Regions from separate parts of the Homo sapiens genome. Here region 2 is linked to region 1. Evidence: promoter capture Hi-C in 16 types of primary human blood cells and fetal thymus (Javierre and others, 2016). All regions are on one chromosome and are shown on one strand. Each heading gives the region's core, a stretch centred on a gene start or on the middle of the fragment in contact. The rest is flanking DNA. Distances are from core to core; before and after follow the strand shown. Region 1 holds the start of GPR151 (G protein-coupled receptor 151). Region 2 overlaps RBM27-POU4F3 (RBM27-POU4F3 readthrough).

Region 1 (7,579 bases), core at 2,801-5,300:
ATCCCAGCACTTTGGGAGGCCGAGGTGGGTGGATTGCTTTTGGTCAGAGTTTGAGACCAGCCTGGTCAACATGGCGAAACCCCATCTCTACTAAAAATACAAAAAAATTAGCCAGGCATGGTGGCGGGCACCTGTAGACCCAGCTACTCAAGAGGCTGAGGTTGCAGTGAGCTGAGATCGTGCCACTGCACTCCAGCCTGGGCGACAGAGCCCTCAGAAAAAATAAAAATAAAAATAAATTTAAAAGTCTCAGAATAGAATATCCATTCTGCTGGAGGCTACTCAGCATTTCAAGAGCAGGGAAATCTGCTCTTTACCTTTTCTCCATCCCAAATAACTCCTTTCTTGAAAAGAGCTTTTATTGAGGTATAATTTGCATACCATAAAATGCAATCATAGAACATTTTCATCACCCCAAACATATCCTCTGTGCCTATTTGCGGTCACTCCCCTTTCACACCTCGGGACCCAGGGAACCACTATTCTACTTCCTGTTTCTATAGATTTGCCTTTTCTGGACATTTCCTATTAATGGAATCTTACTGTAGGTATTTTTTTTTTTGGTCTGGATGTTTTTATTTAGCATAGTGCTTTTTTTCATCCATATTGTTGAATTTATCATTCATTTTTATTGCTGAATAATGTTCCATGGCATGAAGGTAGCCACTTGTTTATCTATTGACCAGCTGATAAACATTTGGGTTGTTTCCAGCATTTTGTGGGGATGAGGTTGTTTCCAGTTTCCATCTCAAATAATTCTCAATTGTTTTTAATTGTTCTGCTCTATCCACCCCATCCATATCATTTTTCCCCAGAATCCCTTCTATCCAACAGGAGAGGTTCATATACTAGGCACCTCCCCAAAATAAATAAAAATAAGGAAACCTGACAAATGTTCACCACATCTACAACTGAATTCTATGTTTTAAGTGAATATGCTATAAACAAAGATTCAAATAACTTCCACTTATAATGCAAATAAAGACTTCTTTTATGTTTGCTAATTACATTTATCCTTTATACGGAAATAATTTTAAAATGAAGAAAATGTAGATACAAGCCACATATAACATCCATCAGATACTCAGATATACAAGGGCTAATATTCAAAGTAAAATGTGAAACTTGGGTAGTATGGTCTGAATCTTTATGTGCCCTCCAAAATCACATGTTGAAATTTTCAGCCGGGCGCAGTGGCTCAAGCCAGTAATTCCAGCACTTTGGGAGGCCGAGGCGGGCGGATCACGAGATCAGGAGATCGAGACCATCCCGGCTAACACGGTGAAACCCCGTCTCTACTAAAAATATAAAAAAAAATTTAGCCAGGCATGGTGGCGGGCACCTGTAGTCCCAGCTACTCAGGAGGCTGAGGCAGGAGAATGGCATGAACCCAGGAGGCAGAGCTTGCAGTGAGCCAAGAGTGCGCTACTGCACTCCAGCCTGGGGTGACAAAGTGAGACTGTGTCTCAATAAATAATTAATCGGTGAACTCAGATGAAGTATATAGGGCAATTCTTTGTGCTCTTCTTGCATTTTTTCTCTATACATTTGCAATTATTTTTATTTTTTTATTTTTTAAGACAGAGTCTCTCTTTGTCACCCAGGCTGGAATGCAGTGGGACCATCTCGGCTCACTGCAACCTCAGCCTCCCAGATTCAAGCAATTCTCCCGCCTCAGCCTCCCGAGTAGCTGAGACTACAGGCATGTGCCACCACACCTGGCTAATTTTTGTATTTTTTAGTAGCGACGGGGTTTCACTATGTTGGCCAGGCTTGTCTTGAACTCCTGACCTCGGGTGATCCACCTGCCTTGGCCTCCCAAAGTGCTGGGATTACAGGTGTGAGCTACCGTGCCCAGAAGCAATTATTTTTAAATAAAAAGTTAAAATAAATTTCCCCCAAAAGAGCGGAGAAAGTTCATTATCCTTCAGTCCAAAGACTTTATCTCTAGCTGGAGCACCAGGAGATGCTTCCCTGAGTCAGTACCAATAGACTTGGGAAGTACCACATGACAGTCTTTAGTTTCCCTCAATTGTCTATTAAGAATCAAATTTCCATGGTATTAAAGGTGGCTTGAACCCATTTAGCTTTTTATCTTATACAGCTTCAGGAGGCTTGAATATCATAATCTTGAATATATAAGCCACAGTGTGAAGCAGTATATTTGTTTCTTGGTTCTGAATGAATCTCTTCCACATACATCAAGTGAACTACCTTCCTTGTAGTCTACAATCTGCAAAACATCACTCTGCTCCCTCCCCCATTTTCTTCCCTGTAAGACGTTGCGGGCCTCTTCACACCCAAAAGTGATGCTTGTTGAGACTCAAGGATATTTCATCCTTAAGTAGTTACTGGGAGTTACTGTGCCTTGCTGGAATAAGGTGTTGCCCCAATTTACTGTTCTATAGGAACAACTACTTCCCAGAGGTAAAAGGAAGGAAAGCAAAAGGAAATAGAAATGGAAACAAAGGAACCCAGCACCACTGACCACTGTCCCAATAGCTATACTGATCACTACTTATTTATTTTCTAGGACACTGAAGAATTTTAAAACGTCAGACCCTTCTTTACTTGCGAAAAACGTGAAAGCACAGTACCAGAATCCAGAGATCTGAATGCAGCAGCATACTCTCCTGTATATCATGCTTTAGCTTTTCTGACTAGCCACACTCAATGTAGCATGTATCTTCATATCAACCCCACAAACCCCATTCTCTGAACATTTTGAGCTCCTCTAATCCCCCCAGAGTATCCATTGCTTATTTTAAAATTTCAGGGCTAGTTCTACCAAATCATCTTATCTGAGAATTTTTTTATTTCTAGAGACAGAGGATCACTCTGTCACTCAGGTTGGAGTGCAGCAGCACAGTCATAGCTCACTGCAACCTCGAACTCCTGGGCTTAAGCAACCCTCTCACCTCAGTCTCTTAAGTAGCTAGGACTACAGGTGTACACCATCATGGCTGACTTTTTTTTTTTTCTTTTTTTTTTTTTTCTTGTTTGTTTGGTAGAGGTGGGGGCAGGGGTCTCACTTTGTTGCCCAGGCTGGTCTCGAACTTCTGGCCTTAAGCAATCCTCCCGCCTCCACCTCCCCAAATTCTGGGATTACAGGCATGAGCCAGTGTGCCCAGCACAAAATCTTTACCAACTTTAAAATATAATTTAAAAAAATCTCTTAAATGCCTTCCACATAGATATTGATTTTTCTTTCATTTCTCTTGTCTTGGTAAATCCTCTAGGAATGCTCTCTGAAAAGCAGCTTAATTCATCATGCAGTTGCCTTCATCACCATCACTTGTTGAAAAGTCTTATTAGTATGTAAAGCAGTTCTAATTTGGAGCTGTAAAATTGCTTCTAAAAACTCGTAATAGAATAAACTGAGAGTCATCCATAATTAGATTTTTTTAATAGGACTTCTAACTTGTTTTCATTATCCAGCTGTGTTTGAACTCAGCCAGCTGTTGATGGAACTGAGGTGGTTGTAAGGGTTGGGGAAAAGAAGAGGAAGCTCATCTCTGCAGAGTGGGTAGGGGAAGCTTTAGTTCTCAGTTTAAAACAGTGGTTCTCAAAGTGTGGTCTCCCAACCTGCAGCATCAGAGTCTCATGGGAACTTGTTAGAAATGATTTCTTGGGCCCTACTCCAGACCCACTGGATCCGGCCATCAGGTGAAGTTCAAAGAACTTGGTTCAGATGTAGTGTTCACTAAATTACAGACAGCAGTCAAGATTTTAGGAAGAGCTGGTTGAAAATAATTGCCTTGACTGGCTCTAGTGACCCCCCAAGGAACACATGCCACTTACATGTATGTTCTCTTCATTCATCATTTATGGGTATATTTGTATTACTCCACAGGGCTGACGATTTGGTATTAGACTTGCTAATGAGCAGCAGCCATGTGCTCCTGCTATCTGACAGTCGGTACAGTCACAAGTATATTGTATGCAGCAGAGAAGAGCTTAACAGCCAGCCTCCTTCCACATTCTGCTCTCAGGAAATAAGCAAGGGGAGGATCCAGAAGTGTCATTTGACACTGACGACAGAGTACTTATTTCCTATGCAAAAGAGCCCAGGCAGAAAGACAAACCTAAATAAGAATCTAACTTCTGTAAGAAGCTGTGAAGAGTGATGCTGGCAGCTGCCTTTGCAGACTCTAACTCCAGCAGCATGAATGTGTCCTTTGCTCACCTCCACTTTGCCGGAGGGTACCTGCCCTCTGATTCCCAGGACTGGAGAACCATCATCCCGGCTCTCTTGGTGGCTGTCTGCCTGGTGGGCTTCGTGGGAAACCTGTGTGTGATTGGCATCCTCCTTCACAATGCTTGGAAAGGAAAGCCATCCATGATCCACTCCCTGATTCTGAATCTCAGCCTGGCTGATCTCTCCCTCCTGCTGTTTTCTGCACCTATCCGAGCTACGGCGTACTCCAAAAGTGTTTGGGATCTAGGCTGGTTTGTCTGCAAGTCCTCTGACTGGTTTATCCACACATGCATGGCAGCCAAGAGCCTGACAATCGTTGTGGTGGCCAAAGTATGCTTCATGTATGCAAGTGACCCAGCCAAGCAAGTGAGTATCCACAACTACACCATCTGGTCAGTGCTGGTGGCCATCTGGACTGTGGCTAGCCTGTTACCCCTGCCGGAATGGTTCTTTAGCACCATCAGGCATCATGAAGGTGTGGAAATGTGCCTCGTGGATGTACCAGCTGTGGCTGAAGAGTTTATGTCGATGTTTGGTAAGCTCTACCCACTCCTGGCATTTGGCCTTCCATTATTTTTTGCCAGCTTTTATTTCTGGAGAGCTTATGACCAATGTAAAAAACGAGGAACTAAGACTCAAAATCTTAGAAACCAGATACGCTCAAAGCAAGTCACAGTGATGCTGCTGAGCATTGCCATCATCTCTGCTCTCTTGTGGCTCCCCGAATGGGTAGCTTGGCTGTGGGTATGGCATCTGAAGGCTGCAGGCCCGGCCCCACCACAAGGTTTCATAGCCCTGTCTCAAGTCTTGATGTTTTCCATCTCTTCAGCAAATCCTCTCATTTTTCTTGTGATGTCGGAAGAGTTCAGGGAAGGCTTGAAAGGTGTATGGAAATGGATGATAACCAAAAAACCTCCAACTGTCTCAGAGTCTCAGGAAACACCAGCTGGCAACTCAGAGGGTCTTCCTGACAAGGTTCCATCTCCAGAATCCCCAGCATCCATACCAGAAAAAGAGAAACCCAGCTCTCCCTCCTCTGGCAAAGGGAAAACTGAGAAGGCAGAGATTCCCATCCTTCCTGACGTAGAGCAGTTTTGGCATGAGAGGGACACAGTCCCTTCTGTACAGGACAATGACCCTATCCCCTGGGAACATGAAGATCAAGAGACAGGGGAAGGTGTTAAATAGATTTAAGTTTCAAAGCAAAACAAACTGTGATTATTGTATTTACTTGTACTGCTGCTTATCAATATTGCTGACTTTACAAACTGATATAATTATTACCATTAGGAATTATAAAAATATTTCACAATCTACACTTTCCAAATGTGCAATGTGGTAAGTAGAGAACCATGTTAGAAGTAATAATTGTTTCAGAATTAGAACTTGGCTTCCCAAACAATTTAAGTGTTGTGTAAAGATGTTGCTGTCAAAGTGATTAGACAGCCTGGCTATTCTGTCATTTGTTCACAGTGGTTTTACTGGGTACCCCCTAGGACCAGCCCTGTAGTGGACCGGCTGGAGCCTGCAGTAGAGGTTCTGTCAAAGCTGAGCCCCTTTACCTTCAGTTTCACCCAGGACCTGCTAGTCCTAATTTTACCTACTAAATTGTATTTCACATAACCAAAGCTCAAAATCTACTTTCACTTGAGATTTTTAACACATTAATGATAAATTTTAATGCGTTCTTCATTTACTTAATAAGTGTTAATTTACTTGATGAAAAGTCCGTATCATAATGTTCATGACTGAAGGTCAAAGAAAAAGAAACAGCACCTTATTCCAATTCTGGACTCATTTCAAGCCATGGCTGGTTCTGGCCAAGTTTAAATAAATTCAAACTTAAACTAAAGCCTGCTTCAGTGAACTTTTTAAAGCTACCTGAATGAGTCTTCAGTTTCTAAGTCTAAGAATTGTAGCAGCTTTCCAATGACATTCAGTAGTCTGATATGGGGGAAAAAATACTTAAAAAAATGTCCTCTCTTCACTTCCAAAATGTGGGAAAGTTATTTTTCTATAAGCAGAAATGTGTTCCTCCTAATATCTCCTTTCTCCCAAGATAAACCATGGTTAATGATATAGGTATAGATTACTCCTCAAATACAAATAGAAGATGGAGATGGTGATCTTTCTTGTTAATGGTACTAAACTTACCCTTACTCAGAACATTGAACTTGAACCCTACTCAACTTTTAAAATACTATAGGCTAAGTTATAAAAATAATCTAGCAACCTGAGAAAGAGATTAATATCAAAAAGAGAAAATTCAACAAACCAAGACAGAATTTGGTTAAGAATACAAAATAAAAAGCATAAGGGCAATGCAGAAAGCAGTAAAACTGTGTACCCAGACATACGGTAAAATCTGAGTAACAGGCAATAACCATTCATTTTATAGCAAGGTAAAACATACCCAATAAAACATGATTATGATATATTTCTGCCCCTTTTAAGTATAATGACATTCACCCATGATTCTTGATTACTTTGTTATGGAACTCGGGTATTTTCACTGAAAGTTTCCCTCAGAATAGAAATGCCTTTAGGGCAAACCAAGCCATGGAGAATCTGAAATATAAAGGATATGTTATGGAAAAAAAAAGATTTTGCTTTTTGTCTATGGGTTTCCGGATTCTTTGCTTTTTCATAAGTGGTCATAGTTTGCTTTTTAACACAGGAGGTAGGGCTGTATTCTTTTTACATCCTTCATTACAAATTTTATTTGAAGCTCATGTATTCAAATAAAGTAAAATTTAACCCAAGAATCCAAAATATTGTCTTGTGATATGGTAGTTATAAAAAGGATTATCATTGTCTGTGATTATTTGAATAAATAATTTTTATGTTCATTATATGTAGTAAATTTAGGATGTAAGCTTCCAGGGTTTGACACTTTAAACTTGTAAAGAAATAAAAATAATTACGCTTTACTTCCGATAGTTTTTGGAGATTTAAAGCTGTCTTTGTCTTGAATTATCATTCCAAAATCATTATTAGGAACAATGGAGCTTTATGGGGCTGTTTGACCTTAACACTGGAACAGGTCTCAAGGTGAACTGATTTTCAGAGTTTGCTAACAAGCACCAAATCAAGATGCAGACACTGGAACAAAGAGTAATTACAATGAACCTTTCATTAAGAACCTGATACACAAAGTTAAGTCCCGACTTGATCCCTTAAAAAATCTGCTTAGAGAAGTTTGATTTGTATCTTATCTGATCAAACCCAGATACTTTAAGACAAAAGTAGGAAATTAGAACAGATATCACCAAACTGTTTTCTTCTCACTTCTCTACTGTGAGAAACAACGTAGTAAGTGGGCAAACAATATTATGTGGAATTCAGAATAACAAAATAAGGCATTCTGGAAACTTTACCCTT
Region 2 (7,579 bases), core at 1,543-4,042, 240 kb after region 1:
AGGCATGCACCACCTCACCTGGCTAATTTTTTTATTTTTATAGACGGGGTCTCCCGATGTTGCCCAGGCTGGTCTCAAACTCTTGGGCTCGAGGAATTCTCCCACCTTAGCCTCCCAAAGTGTTGGAATTACAGGCACGAGCCACAGCACCTGGTCTATATTTACCATCTTTTAAAAATTAGGTAATGTACGTAACAGAGATCCTTTACCCTTTACTCTATCCTTTAACACACAGCCCAATTATAGAGAGGCTTTCCCTGCTTGTTTTGTTCATTTCTTTATTATTTGAATTTCTAAATAAAAACATATTACTTTTATAAACAGAAAAAGTAATAAAGATTTTTAAATCTGTAATAACTGTGTTGCTCTCCAAAGAGGATAAGAGGTCTGTCCTCCAAAAGGAATATTAAGGCATTAAATGTATTGCATATACATTATTAAAGGAAGAATAAGAAATGTATACAGAGTCTGAAATTAAGAACAAATAATTTCTACTATCTAACTTACAACAAATCAAATAAATTAGCAATTAGAATAAAGATATATTATGACGCTACCAAGTTAGGAATTCTCATACACAAATGGTGAGAATCTCAAACTGATTCTAAACTGGTAAGAATCTAAAACTGATGGGGTTCACTCAGCAATTCCACATACAGTCATCACTTGGTGTTTCTGGGGGACTGGTTCCAGGACTCTCTGTGAATACCAAAATCCATGAATGCTCAAGTCATTTACATAAAATAGTGTAGTATTAGCATGTAATCTACACACATTCTCCTATATACTTTGAATCCTCTCTAGATTACTTATAATATCTAATGCAATGTAAAAGCTATGTAAATAGTTGTTATACTGTATTGTTTAGGGAATAATGACAAAAAATGTACATGCTCAGTACAGATGCAACCTTTCATTTTTTTCCCAATATTTTTGATCCAAAATAGGTTGAATCCATGGAGGTGAAACCCACACATATGAAGGGCCAACTGTATATCCAAGAGAAATGGTGTGTACATGTGTAGTTAAAAACATGTATAAGATAGCAACACTGCTTACAAAAGCCACATAGTAGAAATAACCCAAACATCCATCAGTAAGAGGATGAGGCTGGGTGCGGTGGCTCACGCCTGTAATCCTAACACTTTGGGAGGCCGAGGTGGGCGGATCACCTGAGGTCAGCAGTTCAAGACCAGCCTGTCCAACATGGAGAAACACCATCTCTACTAAAAATACAAAAATTAGCCAGGGGTACTGGCACACGCCCATAATCCCAGCTACTCAGGAGGCTGAGGCAGGAGAGAATCGCTTGAACCCATGAGGTGGAGGTTGCCAAGAGCCGAGATCGCGCCACTGTGATCTGGCCTGGGCAACAGAGTGAGACTCCATCTCAAAAAAAAAAAAAAAAAAAAAGATGAAAAATAAACTGTGGTATATTGATACAACTATTATATAGTAATAAAAATGGCAAATTAATGTTACATGTAAAAACATGAATGAGTCTCACAAACATTAAACAGAAGAAGCCAAGCACAAAAGAATATACACTGTGTGATTCCATTTACATAACATTTTAAAAACAGGCAGAATACTACTCTAATATTTAGGAATGCATATTTAGGTGATAAAACTACAGTCAATTCTCATTACTTGCAGTAGTTTTGTTCTAAAAAGTTGATGCAAACATTTAACTGGCAAATAGCCACTACTTATAGGGGAAATAGAATTAGACTCTTATGAGCCTCTAGAGCAACCTTGTCCAACCTGTGGCCCATGGGCCACATATGGCCCAGGATGGCTTTGAATGCAGCCCAACACAAATTTCATAAACTTTCTTAAAACACTATGAGATTTTTTTTTCCTGTTCATCAGGTATCATTAGTGTTAGTGTATTTTATGTGTGGCCCAAGACAATTATTCTTCTTCCAGTGTGGTCCAGGGAAGCCAAAAGATTGGACACTCCTGTTTTAGAGGGTCACAACATTTTTGTCAGCTAATCAACACAAACTTTGGTTTTATGTGTTTCTGTTGAAAGACATCTTATTTAATATATGTTACTGATTCATTAACATTGAACTCATGGCCAAAAGCACTCACTCATGCCTGAACAAAGCTTAACTAACACATGTATCTTTGTAAGGCATATCACAGCCTTGCACTTAGGAACACTAGACAGGACTTTAGAACTACATTCGGGGGCCATTTAAAACAGTTTAATCACCAAGAAAACAAAAAAAATTGAGAAAAATGTGGCATTAAATAGACTGCAAAGGCTGGGCGCAGGGGCTCACGCCTGTCATCCTAGCACTTTAGGAGGCCGATGTCAGGAGTTTGAGACCAACCTGGCCAACATGGTGAAACCTCGTCTCTACTACTAAAAATACAAAAATTAGTTGGGTGTGGTGGTGGGCGCCTGTAATCCCAGCTACTAGGTAGGCTGAGGCAAGATAATCACTTGAACCCGGGAGGCGAAGGCTGCAGTGAGCCAAGATCATGCCACTGCACTCCAGCCTGAGTGACAGAGCGAGACTCTGTCTCAAAAATAAATAAATAAATAAATAAAACAAATAGACTGCAAAAGGGGCATTTGTTTACAGTATAAAAGCTGAAACAAGAAGGCATAGCACCACCTTATTTCTATCTCAGCTGAAAACGGGCTCATGAGGGGACTGGCAACTGTGTGTATGTCTGAGAATGACCACAAAACACCATAAGTATTGATTTTGGGGTTACAAATAAATTTTAGTGAGTAGATGAATTGGCAAATGTGGAATCTGAAAATAATAAGGATTGACTGTATAAAGAAAGCAAGGTGACTATCATAAAGTGAGGCTAACAGTTACTGCTCTGAGAAGGAGAGAAGATAGATAGAGGCTGGAGGGAGCAACAAGGGAGATTGGGGTATTGGAAATGTTCTATTTCTTGACCTGAGGTATAGGTATATTAGGTGTTTGCCTTCTCATAAATCATTGAACTATATGTTTATGATCAGTATAGTTGGTTTTTATAAACATTTTTAGTTGACTATAGGTATAACCTTTAAAAATTTTAAGGAAATAGGTCGGGCGTGGTGGCACATGCCTATAATCCCAGCCCTTTGAGGCTGAGGCAGGTAGATCACCTGAGTTCAGGAGTTTGAGACCAGCTGGCCAACATGGTGAAACCTCATCTCTACTAAAAATACAAAAATTAGCTGGGCGCGGTGGTGCATGCCTATAATCCCAGCTACTCAGGAGGCGAAGAAAGGAGAATCCCTGAACCTGGGAGGTGGAGGTTGCAGTGAGCTGAGATCGTACCACTGCACTCCGGCCTGGGTGACAGGTGACTTGAGACTCTGTCTCCAAAAAAAAAAAAAATTAAAGGAATACCAGATAGCTAAGATTTTTATGTGAAAAAGGCAAGGTTTGGAATGCAGCCCTGTATGTATAATACGATCACATTTTCGTAAATGTTTTTAAAGTGAGAAGCTTTATATATGTTTTCTTACATACATAGTATTTTTCTATAAAGATACCTAAGAATAGTGACTATCTTTTAAGAATGGAAAAAGATTAATAAAAGGGAGATTTTACTTTTATTAGTCATACTTTTTTTTTTTTTTTTTTTGAGACAGAGTCTTGCTCTATTGCCCAGGCTGGAGTGCAGTGGCGCAATCTGGGTTCACTCCAACCTCCACCTCCTGGGCTCAAGCAATTCATGTGCCTCAGGCTCCCGAGTAGCTGCGACTACAGGCAGATGCCACCACAGCTAGCTAATTTTTGTATTTTTTGTTGAGATAGGGTTTTGCCATGTTGGCCAGGCTGGTCTCAAACTCCTGAGGTCAGGTGATCCACCCGCCTCGGCCTCCCAAAGTGCTGTGATTATAGGCGTGAGCCACCGTACCTGGCCCTAGTCATCCTTTTAACCATTTGCATACATTATATTTTTATTTTTAAAAGTTTTGTTTTTTTTTTGTTTTTTTGTTTTTTAGACAGAGTCTCACTCTGTCGCCCAGGCTGGAGTGCAGTGGCGCGATCTCGGCTCACTGTAACCCGCCTCCCAGGTTTAAGTGATTCTCCTGCCTCAGCCTCCTGAGTAGCTGGGACTCCAGGTGCACGCCACCATGCCCGGCTAATTTTCTGTATTCTTAGTAGAGATGGGGTTTCACTGTGTCAGCCAGGATGGTCTCAATCTCCTGACCTCGTGATCCACCCACCTGGGGCTCCCAAAGTGCTGGGATTACAGGTGTGAGCCACCGCACCCAGCCCTAAAAAGTACTTTTTAAAAAAATCTAGGATTAATCTCTTAACATATTTGTTACTTATTACAGTACCTAATTGTTCTACACATACATATACATTCTCTCACATACACATCTAAATATGGTTTAAAATGATAAAATATTGGGAAAAAAGGCCAGGCGCAGGGGCTGATGCCTGTAATCCCAGCACTTTGGGAGGCAGAGGCGGGCAGATCACGAGGTCAGGAGATCGAGACCATCCTGGCTAACACGGTGAAACCCCGTCTCTACTCAAAATACAAAAAATTAGCCAGGCGTGGTGGCGAGTGCCTGTAGTCCCAGCTACTCGGGAGGCTGAGGCAGGAGAATGGCATGAACCTGCGAGGCGGAGCATGCAGTGAGCTCAGACTGCATCACTGCACTCCAGCCTGGGAGGCAGCCAGACTCCGTCTCAAAAAAAAAAAAAAATTGGGAAAAAATTGGATGTCCATCAATACAGGATGGTTCAACTGTAGTATTATATATCTGTGCAATGAAATACCATGCAGTCATTAAAAAGAATGAAGCAACACCACATGCACTAGTGTAGAACAATTTAAAATCTAATATAAAGTAAAAGTACATATGGCAAAACGGTGTTGTATAACATGCTACCATTTTTATAAAAGAGAGAACAAATAATATATATAGAGAGAGAATATCTTTAAGCAGATGTATGAGAAACTCGTAACAATAATTGTCTATGGGGAGTGAAATTGAGTGACTGGAGGTAGAAGGAAATCTTATTTTTCATTGTATACACTTTTATTCCTTTTTCATTTTGTTTACGTGTGTTGGCCAAGGAAATAATTCAAATAAAATACATATATATGTGAATATGAGATCAACTATATATACCATAAATTAAAAATTATATGCATATTAGGGTTCTTGGTAGAAGCTGCTCAAAGAGAAATTCATCTAGTCCAGCCATTTTCCCCGATTAGAAACTGACGCCCAATCTATGCCAGTCATCATGTATCAATCAACTGACTGGCAGATAAAAAAACAAAATTCAAGTGCTATATGAGGGAATGAGCAAATAGGTACTCTCATCCAATGTCACTACAAGTATAAATTAGTACAACATTCTGAAGGGTTATTTAGCGAGCTGTACCAAAATTTCAATGCATGCCTTTGATCCAGTTATCTCCTTCCTAGGAATTTACCTAAAGCAGTGGTTCTCAATTGGAGACATCACTCTAGCAGGTATTTTGGCAGTCACACTGACTAAGTAGCACTTACTGGCAATTAGTAGGTGGTAGCCAGGGGTGCCAGAAGTTTTACAATGTGCAGCACTGTCCCACATAATGAAAAATTATTGGCCAGGCGCGGTGGCTCATGCCTGTAATCCCAGCACTTTGGGAGGCCGAGGTGGGAGGTCACCTGAGATCAGGAGTTTGAGACCAGCCTGACCAACATGGTGAAACCCCGCCTCTACTAAAAATACAAAAAAAAAAAAAAAATTAGCTGGGCCTGGTGGCGGGCGCCTGTGGTCCCAGCTGCTCGGGTGGCTGAGGCAGGAGAATGGCATGAACCCAGGAGGTGGAGGTTGCAGGGAGCCAAGATCGTGCCACTGCACTCCAGCCTGGGTGACACAGCAAGACTCCGTCTCAAAAAAAAAAAAAAAAAAAAAAATTATCCCAGTAAATATGCTAAATCTAACATGATGTATATAACATTGTTCATAATAGTTAAATGGTAAACAACCTACCTAACTCATCAATAGGGGGCTGTACATAAAAATTATGGCATATTCTTATAACAGAATGCCTTCAAATAAGACAAATGTATATCTATATTCATAAACATGAACAATTCTCCATGATACACTATGGATGTAAAAACAAACTCCAAAACAGCATGGGTAGTATGTATACATATGACAGATACAGGTGCTAGAAAGATGTTCATAAAAATGTAATTGGTAAGATTTCAAATTTGTTGTGCCTTCTCCTTTATAATTTGTATTGTTTGAATGTTCTAAAAGCAGTAACTACCTTTGTAAAGAAATTTTCAAAATTAAGAGAAAAAATTACAGCAGTTTAGAGTTTCAATGTCTTTGTAAAGGTCACAGAATTACCATTGCCATATTTCACTCCTAGAACTAGCTACGAAAATTATATTTTCACCTGAAGAACCCTGAACACAGTAAAGTGTGCAGAAAAGGTAAACTCCTGATCACTTGTGACAGATAACAACAGTAAATGGTCATAGCTCACAAATCACCCATATTACCTTTTAAATTTAATTTAAGTTGTTTTGTAAAGATAGGGTCTCACTATGCTGCCCAGGTTGGTCTTGAACTTCTGGGCTCAAGCAATCCTCCCACCTCAGCCTCCCAAAGTGCTGGGATTACAGGCAGGTGCCACCAAGCCAGGCCTACATTACTTTTTTAACAAGGTCTGATGAAGGGCAATCAATGAAGCACTATCTAAAAAACTTTCTCCAAATGTTAAATACACAGAAAAGGTTAATTTTTGTTCTGGAAAGCACAAAAGAAAACTATCTGCCTAACTATAAAGTATCATTTCCATGTACAGTAAAATTCTCAAATATATTTTTCAGATACTTGGAAGATGGGGGAAAATCCCTGTCTTGAGAGGCTGTGGGGAAAAGCTAACTATGTGCGAAGTCTTTGGTAATTACAGCAGAGGTATTCTGTTGCCTCATATGAAGTTCCAGGAATGACAGGAGTGAGACATTAGAGGTTTTTGCCAGTAAGAACATAAAAATTATAACGAATTATATAAATATTGTGGGAGCACAGGTTCTAAACAGTACTTTAGAGATAAACCTCTTACTTTCTCAAGACTCAAAGGGTCTTCTGGCTAAAGATGGGGAACTGACCATCTGTCGTATGCAATTTCATACCCTTCCCCAGACACCCACTGAAATGACAGTAGAATAATTTATTTTTTTAAGGTATAAATCCGTAACAAAAAAATAAAAGAAAACACGACAAGGTCAAAAAAAAACTGGAGAGGTGGGAAGCAGAAAGATTAATGGGAAGTCAATATATAATGCTTACAATTTAGAAATCAAGAAGTAACAGTAAAAACAGGAATTTAAAAAAAGAAAAAAAAACTAGCCAGGTGCAATGGCTCATGCCTGTAATCCCAACATTTTGGGAGGTCAAGGCAAGAGGAAAAAAGCCTAATAAAAGGCAACATGGTAGGATAGAAGAAGAGAAATATATTAATCTGAGCAGCTGAATTTCTGAATTGATCAATCCTAAAACCTAACTCTAGACTTCTTGAAAAGAAGGAAAAATTCAAAATTCTTACAGTTAAATGAGCCACACTACTTGAAAAATATCAA

The links. The method cuts DNA at HindIII sites, captures the fragments that hold promoters and counts their contacts. A CHiCAGO score of 5 or more calls a contact.
Region 2: a contact is called between a fragment that was not itself captured here and the fragment with the promoter of GPR151 in region 1, in 1 of 17 cell types (monocytes). The highest score is 6.6, in monocytes.

Annotation. Positions count from the first base shown.
Region 1 is chr5:146,512,661-146,520,239 of GRCh38, reverse strand. It overlaps GPR151 (G protein-coupled receptor 151), which reads left to right and starts at 4,050. Exons shown (of 1, transcript NM_194251.3): 1 at 4,050-7,096. The coding sequence starts at 4,127. The coding sequence ends at 5,386. The HindIII fragment of the contact is 3,538 bases long and covers 3,539-7,076 here.
Region 2 is chr5:146,275,835-146,283,413 of GRCh38, reverse strand. All of the region lies in intron 18 of RBM27-POU4F3 (RBM27-POU4F3 readthrough), which reads right to left. The region is part of intron 19 of RBM27 (RNA binding motif protein 27); the gene reads right to left. Among named protein-coding and RNA genes, the nearest start is that of POU4F3, 59 kb to the left of the region's middle. The HindIII fragment of the contact is 1,354 bases long and covers 2,116-3,469 here.